Linked DNA regions of Homo sapiens: region 1 is linked to region 2. Evidence: promoter capture Hi-C in human tissues and cell types (Jung and others, 2019). All regions are on one chromosome and are shown on one strand. The core of a region is centred on a gene start or on the middle of the fragment in contact, and the rest is flanking DNA. Distances in the headings are between cores, read along the strand shown.

Region 1 (4,898 bases), core at 1,406-3,905, 330 kb before region 2:
GCCCAGGCTGGTCTTGAATTCCTGCGCTCACATGATCCTCTTGCCGCAGCCTCCCAGTGTGCTGGAATTACAGATGTGAGCCACTGTGCCTCTCCTGTAACTATATTTAATTCTCATATGAAGGGCTTTTGTCCTTTTTTTTTTTTTTTTTTTGAGATGGAGTCTCACTCTCTCCCCCAGGCTGGGGTGCAGCGGCGTGATCTCAGCTCACTCCAACCTCTGCTTCCCAGGTTCAAGCGATTCTTCTGCCTCAGCCTCCGGATACCTGGGATTACAGGTGCGTGCCACCATGCCCGGCTAATTCTTGTATTTTTAGTAGAGATGGGGTTTCATCACATTGGCCGGGTTGGTCTCAAACTCCTGACCTCAAGTGATCTGCCTGCGTTGGCCTCCCAAAGTGCTGGGATTACAGGCGTGAGCCACTACGCCTGGCCAAGGGCTTTCATTCTTAGAGTAATATGGTGAATTAATAACCATGTTTTAAAGCTGAACAACTCTTTAAGATAAGTCAGGCACCGGGCTTGGTGGTCCGATCCTGTATTTCCAGCTACTCAGGAGGCTGAGGCAGGGAGATACTTTGAGTGCAGAAGTTCGAGGCTGCCGTGAGCCATGATTATGCCTGTGAGTAGCCACTGTACTCTAGCCTGGGCAATACAGCCAGACCCTGTGTCTAAATAGTAATAATAATAATATTGAAGAAAAAAAAGAAAATGGGAAGGCAGGGAGAGAGGTCACATACAAATAGAATGACAGAAGGTATTAATGATGTTGAATAGAACAGGAATTTTGGCCAGGCTTGGTGGCTCATGCTTGTAGTCCCAGCACTTTGGGAGGCTGCGGCAGAAGAATAGCTTGAAGCCAGGAGTTTGAGACTAGTCTGGGCAACGTAGTGAGACCTTGTTTCTACAACAACAACAACAACAACAACAAAATATTAGAGTTGTGGTGGCACATCTATAGTCCCAGCTACTCAGGAGGCCAAGGTGAGAGGATTGCTCGAGTCTAGGAGTTCAAGGCTGCACTGAGCATGTTCATGCCACTGCACTCCCGGCATGGGCGACAGAGTGAGATACCATCTCTAAAAAACATAAGATACAAAGGCACAAGAATTTAACAGCATCAGTTCTCAAGTGTGGTCCTCAGACATTGGGAGGTCTCCCAGACTCTTTTAGGGTTTTGCAAGGTTAAAACTCTTTTCTTTTTCTTTCTTTCTTTCTTTTTTTTTTTTTTTTTTTTTTTTTGAGACGGAGTCTTGCTGTCATCGCCCGGGCTGGAGTGCAGTGGCATGATCTCGGCGCACTGCAACCTCTGACTCCTAGGTTCCAGCAATTCTCCTGCCTCAGCCTCCCAAGTAGCTGAGATTAGAGGCGCCCACCACCATGCCCGGTTAATTTTTGTATTTTTAGTAGAGACGAGGTTTCACCATGTTGGTCAGGCTGGTCTCGAACTCCTGACCTCAGGTGATCCACCCGCCTTGGCCTCCCAGAGCGCTGGGAATACAGGCGTGAGCCACTGTGCCTGGCCGAAATTATTTTCATAATGACATTAACACTTTGCCTTTTCACTGTGATCCCATTCACACCAATGTTCCAGAAGCAAAGGTGAGTAAAGCAGTTGGTGCTAGCACCAATTGGGCTGTTGCTGTGGTCATGGTATCCTTCACCACACATACTCTCAGTATAAAGAAAAGAAAAAGCCAGGTTCGCCTGAGAATGTCCTTGATGAAGTGGTAAAATTCATTAATTTTATGAAGTCTTGACTCCTGAGCACGTGTTTTTAATATTCTGTGTGCTGAAATGGGCAGTACTCCAAAAGCTCTTCTGCCGCCTGTTGAAGTATAATGGTGTGTTGGGAAAAAGCACGGTTGTTTGAATTGAGAGCTGAATTAATTGCTTTTTGGGTGAAGTACCATTTTTACTTAAACATCTAACAGACAAATGTGTTACTAGATTTGGGTATTTGGCAAGCCTTTTCTTGAAAACGAATGAAGTGAGCCCGACACTTCAAGGAAAACAACACAGTATTTGTTACCAATGATAAAATATGAGTTTTTTTTTTTTTTAAAGAAAAGAAAGAGTGGTCGAGTGCAGTGGTTCACACCTGTAATCCCAGCACTTTGGGAGGTTGAGGCAGGCGGATCACTTGAGGTTAGGAGTTCGAGACCAGCTTGGCCAACATGGCGAAACCCCATCTCTACTAAAAATACAAAAATTAGCCAGGTGGTGCTGGTGCCTCTAATTCCAGCTACCCATGAGGCTGAGGCACGAGAATCACTTCAACTTGGGAGGTGGAGGCTGCAGTGAGCCGAGATTGTGCTACTGTACCACTCCAGCTTAGGTGTGTGAGACTGTCTCAAAAAAAAAAAAAAGACAAAAGACAAGGTAGTAGAGATGATGGAAGGAGGGAGGAAGGGGAGCGGATATGAGTTTTTAAGTGAAAGGTTTTAAGGGAAAGTTAGACTTTTGGAATGCTTTTATCTACTACCAAGAGCTCAATGGCTTCCCAATGCTTAAAGACTTGTCTGATGAGATCAGTGGTGACATTCACAAATGTGATTTTTGGATATTGCATAATGAAATGTGTCAACATTTGGAAAATCTGCAGAACTCAATGAACCAATATTTTTCAAATGTCAAATGATGATATTCCAAAATCACATACAAGTAAAAGATCCATTCAAAGTACAAGATAGACTTGCTTCTAGCCAAGACGGAATGACAGGGACACCTCATGGCGAATGATGCTGCACATCTTTTTTTTTTTTTTTTCGAGACAGAGTCTTGCTCTGTCACCCAGGCTGGAGTGCCATGGCACAGTCTCGGCCCACTGCAACCTCCACTTCCCGAGTTCAAGCGATTCTCCTGCCTCAGCCTCCCGAGTAGCTGGGATTACAGGCACCCACTACCACGCCCGACAAATTTGTTGTTTTTTAGTATAGATGGGGTTTCATCATTATGGCCAGGCTGGTCTTGAACTCCTGACCTCAGATGATCTACCTGTCTTGGCCTCCCAAAGTGCTGGGATTACAGACCATGAGCCACTGCACCCAGCCTACCCATTTAAATAATTGTATTAGTTGTCTTCTTTTTCTCTTTCCTTTTTTTTTTTCTTGCATTATACTTTTAGCAAGGATTACTGTCAGATTCTACTCATTTGGCCAGAGACCCTCCTTGAGGTGTTTGCAGCAAACTTGCTCTACAGCTAGCACACTAGATTAGCTGTCTTTCTGCTGTGAATCTGTGATGTTCTTTTTGGAGATGTCTTTTTTTTTTTTTTCTTCTTTTTTTGAGACAGAATCTTGCTCTGTTGCCCAGGCTGGAGTGCAGTGGCACGATCTCGGCTCACTGCACCCTCCACCTCCCGGGTTCAAGCAATTCTCTGCCTCACCCTCCTGAGTAGCTGGGATTACAGGCACCCACCACTATGCTTGGCTAATTTTTTTGTATTTTTAGTAGAGATGGGATTTCATCATCTTGGCCAGACTGGTGTTGAACTCCCAACCCTGTAATCCACCCGCCTCCCAAAGTGCTGGGGATTACAGGCATGAGCCACTGCGCCCAGCCAATCTTTTTTTTTTTTTTTTTTTTTTTTTTGAGATGGAGTTTCGCTCTTGTCACCCAGGCTGCAGTGCAATGGCCGATCTTGGCTCACTGCAACCTCCGCCTCCTGGGCTCAAGTGATTCTCCTGCCTCAGCCTCCAGAGTTGCTGGGATTACAGGCATGCAGCACCATGCCTGGATAATTTTGTATTTTTTAGTAGAGACGGGGTTTTGCCATGTTGGTCAGGCTGGTCTCAAACTCCTGACCTCAGGTGATCTGGCCATCTCGGCCTCCCAAAGTGCTGGAATTACAGACGTGAGCGACCATGCCTGGCAGAGGTGTCTTAGTAGACTCTGCCTCCTCTAGACTTTGCTATAACAGTCCTGTGTCCTTTCTAGTCTATCCTAAGACCTGTCCAGGTTCATTAAGTCATTATAAGACAAACTATACCCTGGTTGCAGTTGCTTGGACGTTTCTATTTTCTTGCCTGTTTCTTTAAGCTTAAATATTGAAATTGAGTTAAACTCCTCTGTCTTCTTATCAGATATTCTCTGAATTCTTTTTTCTGTTTGTCTTACAGCTTCACGGTGATGATATGGCATCTGCCAGCTCTAGCCGGGCAGGAGTGGCCCTGCCTTTTGAGAAGTCTCAGCTCACTTTGAAAGGTGAGTGGCACTGTATAATGTCTTCATCTTGTCTACGCCCAGGGAAGAGGGAGAATCTAACCACACCTTGGTCTGGGGAGCCAAATTTTGTGAAATAGTTTACATGTGTTAATTATTTATTCTCATGGGATTGTCATCTTGTAGCTGTAATTCTTGAAGAAGAAAGAAAATAAAGGAGCAGGAAAATAGGGAACTTTTAGCTAAAATTGTCTAAAATGGTGATTTCAGGCCAGGTGCAGTGGCTCACGCCTGTAATTCAGCACTTTGGGAGGCTGAGGCAGGAGGATCCCTTAAGCCCAGAGTTTCAAGACCAGCCTGGGAAACATAGGGAAGCCCTGTCTCTACAGAACATAAAATAATTAGCCAGGCATAGTGGTGCATGCTAGCTGGTCCCAGCTACTAAGGACACTGAAGTGGGAGGATCGCTTGAGCCTGGGAGTTCAAGGCTGCAGTGAGCTGTGATCACACCACTGCACTCAGCCTGGGCAACAGGGTGAGACCCTGTCCCAAAAACAAATTAAAATAAAAACTGAATAAAATAAAATGGTGACCTGTTCATGCCCTAGGGCTCGTTGCTACCTGCACTCGCTCCCTAGGTGCTTCTTCCAACCTCTGGCTTTAAATGCCACCAATAGAAGATCACTCCTCTGGGCTTTACCTCTGAACTCCTGATTTATAACCAGTAGCCAGTTT
Region 2 (4,934 bases), core at 1,924-4,423:
AAGCAAGACTCCGTCTCACAAAAAAAAAAAAAAAAAAAAAAAAAAAAAGAGTACTGATTGCTACTCGCAACATTCTTCTCTTCCCATGGTGTGAATGAGAACATCCCTGCTTTCCACACAAACACAGGCTCTCAAGCACACGAGAAGCATGCCAGGTGTCAGGTCCTTTCTGTGAAGTCGGTTGTAGGCAGATGTCCAGTCTACTGATGGGGACAAGAACTTCAGAGGGAGGAGGGAGGCCTTCCCCACAGCCATGCCGGTGCTGCAGGGAGGTAAGATAAACGCCTGCATCTTAGCGACCTCAGATCCAAATTCATTCTTACACTGTGGTAACATAGGTATGTCAAATGTTTGTCTGTACACTGTTTATCCTGTGTGGTAGCAAATACATTTACCAAGTCACTGCAGATGAAGATTTCACAAGAGGACTTGACAAGCGTAATTAAAACGTCTGTTTAGGGCAAGACATGGTGGCTCATGCCTCTAATCCCAGCACATTGGGAGGCCAAGGCAGGTGGATCTCTTGAGGTCAGGAGTTTAATGCCAGCCTCAGCAACATAGTGAAACCCCACCTCTACCAAAAAATACAAAAGTTAGCTGGGGACGGTGGCACGCGCCTGAGGTCTCAGCTATTCGGGAGGCTGAGGTGGGAGAATCGCTAGAGCCCAGGAAGTTAAGACTGCAGTGAGCCGTGATTGCACCACTGTGCTCCAGCCTGGGTGACAGGGTGAGAGCTAATCTCAAAAAATAAAAATAGGCTGGACGCGGTGGCTCACGCCTGTAATTCCAGCACTTTGGGAGGCCTAGGTGGGCAGATCACGAGGTCAGGAGTTTGAGACCAGCCTGGCCAACATAGCGAAACCCTGTCTCTAATAAAAATACAAAAATTAGCCCAGCGTGGTGGCGCACGCCTGTACAGTCCCAGCTACTGGGGAGGCTGAGGTAGGAGAATCCCCTGAACCTGGGAGGCAGAGGTTGCAGTGAACCGAGACCACACCATTGCACTCCAGCCTGGGCAACAGAGTGAGCCTCCATCTAAAAAATAATAATAAAATAAAAACACTCAATCCCCTAGAAAAAATAGTGCATCAGTGGTTATGAGAACCTACTAAGGACAAGACCCATCTTTGACAATGAAAGGGGCCTTAGGACTTACTTCCCTTTTTTTTTTTTTTTTGAGACAGTCTCGCTCTGTCGCCTAGGCTAGAGTGCAGTGACACAATCTTGGCTCACTGCAACCTCCGCCTCCTGGGTTTAAGCAATTCTCCTGTCCCAGCCTCCCAAAGTAGCTGGGATTACAGGCATGTGCCACCACGCCCAGCTAATTTTTGTATTTTTTAGTAGAGATGGGGTTTCACCATATTGATCAGGCTGGTCTCGAACTTCTGACCTCACGTGATCCAACTGCCTTGGCCTCCCAAAGTGCTGGCATTACAGGCATGAGCCACCGCACCCAGCCTGACTTAGCATTTTGGAGTGGAGGCCGATCATGGTGATGGAGAAGGAAATCAGGGACAGATCTACACCATTTGTTTGCTATTTACTGCACGTAAACAGAATGAAATCAACACATTAAGTATTTCACTTGATTTCATCCACCATCTCCTGCAGACAACCAGGTTTCTCCCAAATTCATGTGCCTGGAAATGGCTTGAACCAAATGGTTCATGAGGAAAACCTGTGATATTTTTCATGAAATCGCCACATCTGGGCATCAGGAAAGCCTTCCCCGAGAATGTCTCAAATTGGTCAGCCGTTTTCTCTTTTTTTAGACAGGTAGGTGTCCCCAAGCATTCAATCCTAGCTAAAATATGGAAGTATTTATCTAGCACAGGAGCCTATGGCATAGTTTCAGTCCACTGTCTGGCAGACCTCATCTGGGCTGTCTTTGTGTGATTTGACTGGCCAGTAAATGGGGTATAAACTATGTAGGCTGTGGCCTGGCCTTGTGACAGAGGGGTCCCTGGAACTTGACTGCCACTCCCTAAGAGCAGAAACCGCCTCTTTCTTGTACATTGCTGGATCCCATCATCCTGCACAGTGCCTGGCTACAGGTGGCCAGCAATAAAACACAAGATTGGGGCAGGCACAGTGGCTCACGCCTGTAATCCCAGGACTTTGGGAGGCTGAGATGGAAGGATCACTTGAGGCCAGGAGTTCAGGCCCAGCCTAGGCAACATAGTGAGCCTATCTCTACAAAAAAAAAATTTTTTTTAAATTAATAAAACACAAGATTGGTTTGTGTGGTGAGACAGTATTGAATCCAACAAACGGGAACTGGATAGTGTGGCCCAAGATGCAATGGTGGCTGCAGCATGAGACCCTTATGCATATAATATTCAGTGGAAGAGGTGCCAGGCACTGTTCTGGGTGCTGAGAATAAAGCTATGCATAAGACTAAGGTTCTGTCGACAGAGATCGTGTCACACCAGTGGAAAAGACAGTCATCAAACTTATATCCTTGAGTCAGTGATGAGTTCTAGAAGGAAAGAAAAGGCTGATGTGACAGTGAGGAAGGGATGAGTGGAGACTTCTCTGAGACTTCAGTGATTCCTCTTCCTCTGAGCTGAGCCAAGCTGAGAAGCTGAGAAGAGTAAGATAGGGCCGGGAACTCAGGTCCGTTAGTCCGTCCTCCGAGGTGGGGCGGGCCAGCAGAATGGATTTCCGATCTACTCTGTGAGAGCCTCGCCCAAGAAAGCCCAGAGCCACTTCCAAGATCCGCGCTCCCACGGCGATGAGAAGCGTTTTCCCCCGGGACTGCTTGGCTTAGGACTGGGGACCCACTGGCTTTGGAGTAAGCCCTGGCACGGGCCTCGAGGGAAGAAAGAACTCCCGCGCTCCCCACACTCCACAGGGCCTGCGATCATCTCAGATGTTCCGGTTCCACGTGCAGAAACCCCGCCGGTCCGAGGCCCCGGTTCTAAAACGGCCCTAAGAGTCAAGGCTTCCACAGCTCGCCTCTGAGGGTGGCAAAGAGGCCGCGGGGGCGGTGCCTCGCGAGACCCAAACAAGCCCACGTGGCAGGGGCGGGGCTCCGCGAAGGCGTCACGGCGCGCTCGTGCGCTGCTGAGGTCACGCGCCGGCAGTACCCTTGCCCGGGGGCCGTAAAGCGCGGAAGGTCGCGGTCTCGGCTTCCCCGGAACTTTTTGCTCGCTTCGCCCCGCCCCCTTCCCATCCCCGAACCCCGCTTTCCGGCCCGCGGCGACCCCAGGCAACTGTTGTGGCTGCCGCATTGCTCCCGCCGGGCTGTAGCTGAGCGCGGAGCCCGTGGGGACCGGTGAGGTAAGGAGATAGCTTCGGGGCAACTCTGGCCTCCCCGTCCGCGCGGGCCTAAGCGCCCCGGGACCCCTGGGTTCCCCTCTTTCTCCTTTGGTTTCGCCCGGGGGTGGTCCCCGCTAGCTCACGCTTCCAGTGGGTTCCGCCTGGCCTCTCGCGAAGTCGCGTCCGGGCGCCAGTACTCGTCCCCGTAAGGTTGTCCGCTCGTGCCTTGGCTTGTGTTCTCGGCTACCCCTGGGCGTGCGCACCGCTCCTCCAGGAGCCTGCACTTCAGCCCCGATGCCAGGGCGGCCGGGGTGACCTCGGGCTCCCCCGTCTCGGGCTTGCACACCCCTGCGGCGCAGAGCCAACTCCAGCTTGTCTAGCCCGGTCCTCCATCCCTGCAGATGGAACTGTTTTCCCGCGTTGAGACGTGCGGTCCGCTTGTGCTTTTAGAACTAAAGACTGCTGCAGAGTCCGGAGGAAGAAGTCACCTAGAAAAATCTGGGACAGGGCAGTAAGCTTCCTTCTTAATGTTTGACCTTTGGGGGCCGATGTGTGATACCTCGGATTTGAATCAAGAATCTCCAAGCCCATTTTCCGCATGCATGTAAACGTGATGTACCGGGATGGGGTCTGGTGGTGGAGGAGGAGCCAGCCTGACGGATAAGCTTTTCCAGTGGCAGGGACTTGTGTTAATTTCTTTTTTCTTTTTTTTTCTTTTTTCCGAGACAGAGTTTCACTCTGTCGCCCAGGCGGGAGTGCAGTGGCGCGATCTCGGCTCACTGCAACCTCTGCCTCCTGGGTTCAAGCAATTCTCCTGCCTCAGCCTCCCAAGTAGCTGGGAATACAGGTGTGCGCCACCACGCCCGGCTAATTTTTGTGTTTTTAGTAGAGACGGGGTTTCACTATGTTGGCCAGGCTGGTCTCGAACTCCTGACCTCGTGATTCTCCCGCCTCAGCCTCCCAAAGTGCTGGGATTACAGGCGTGAGCCACTGCGCTCGGCCAACTTGTGTTAATTTCTTAAACTTGCGTGATCACCTGGTGTACTTGTTGAAAAATACAGCTCCCTGGAGTGGCAGGATCAGAATCTGCCGAGGTGGACCGTGGGAATCTGTCATTTTTAAACAAGTGTCCCAGGTGGTTCTTTTGCTGAGGCAAGTGTGGGAAATGTTGTGTGAACCCACGCTCATCCAGTCTTCCTTGTGACCGGCAGTCCACTGTGCGCAACGCTGCAGCCATACAGAGGGACAACTCGAAGTTAGAACTAGCACCTTGGTCTTGTTGGAATAAGCAGATCTGAGTAGAGCCAGCTGCAGTCTTATGGTTGTTTAGCAGAAGTTATTCTTCTTAGCAGAGAATATTATACGGTCATTTTCCAGAACTGTAAAAACTCTATCATTTGTTTTAAACCAGATGATGTGCTTCATTTCTGTCTTTGACGTCTTCAGTTTCTTCTCCCCTGGCTTTACCTCCTTTGTTATCAGTTTGTGCTTTGGTTTTGCTGCCAACCTTATAGGTTTAGGTTTGGCGGCAAAGGCACTAGACTCTGGTGCCTTCTTTTCCTTCGTTGTCTTAAGCCCTTCTTTTCCTCTGCCCTCATGCCCTCACCACTTCACTCTTTTGAAGGTCATAATGAACACAAGGTCAGAGATCCCTTTTTTGGCGCCAAGCACCC

What was found. The method cuts DNA at HindIII sites, captures the fragments that hold promoters and counts their contacts. A contact is called where the count stands out against the background at its distance.
Region 1: a fragment that was not itself captured here is called in contact with the fragment with the promoter of PDPR in region 2 in 1 of the 25 tissues and cell types used here (mesendoderm cells).

What each region holds. Positions count from the first base shown.
Region 1 is chr16:69,782,876-69,787,773 of GRCh38, forward strand. WWP2 (WW domain containing E3 ubiquitin protein ligase 2) reads left to right here. Exons shown (of 24, transcript NM_001270454.2): 2 at 4,121-4,205. The coding sequence starts at 4,136. Among named protein-coding and RNA genes, the nearest start is that of WWP2, 23 kb to the left of the region's middle. The HindIII fragment of the contact is 5,626 bases long and covers 1-4,898 here.
Region 2 is chr16:70,111,159-70,116,092 of GRCh38, forward strand. PDPR (pyruvate dehydrogenase phosphatase regulatory subunit) reads left to right here and starts at 3,174. Exons shown (of 19, transcript NM_017990.5): 1 at 3,174-3,282; 2 at 3,663-3,772. RefSeq lists enhancers at 3,138-3,187, 3,708-4,650. The HindIII fragment of the contact is 8,445 bases long and covers 1-4,934 here.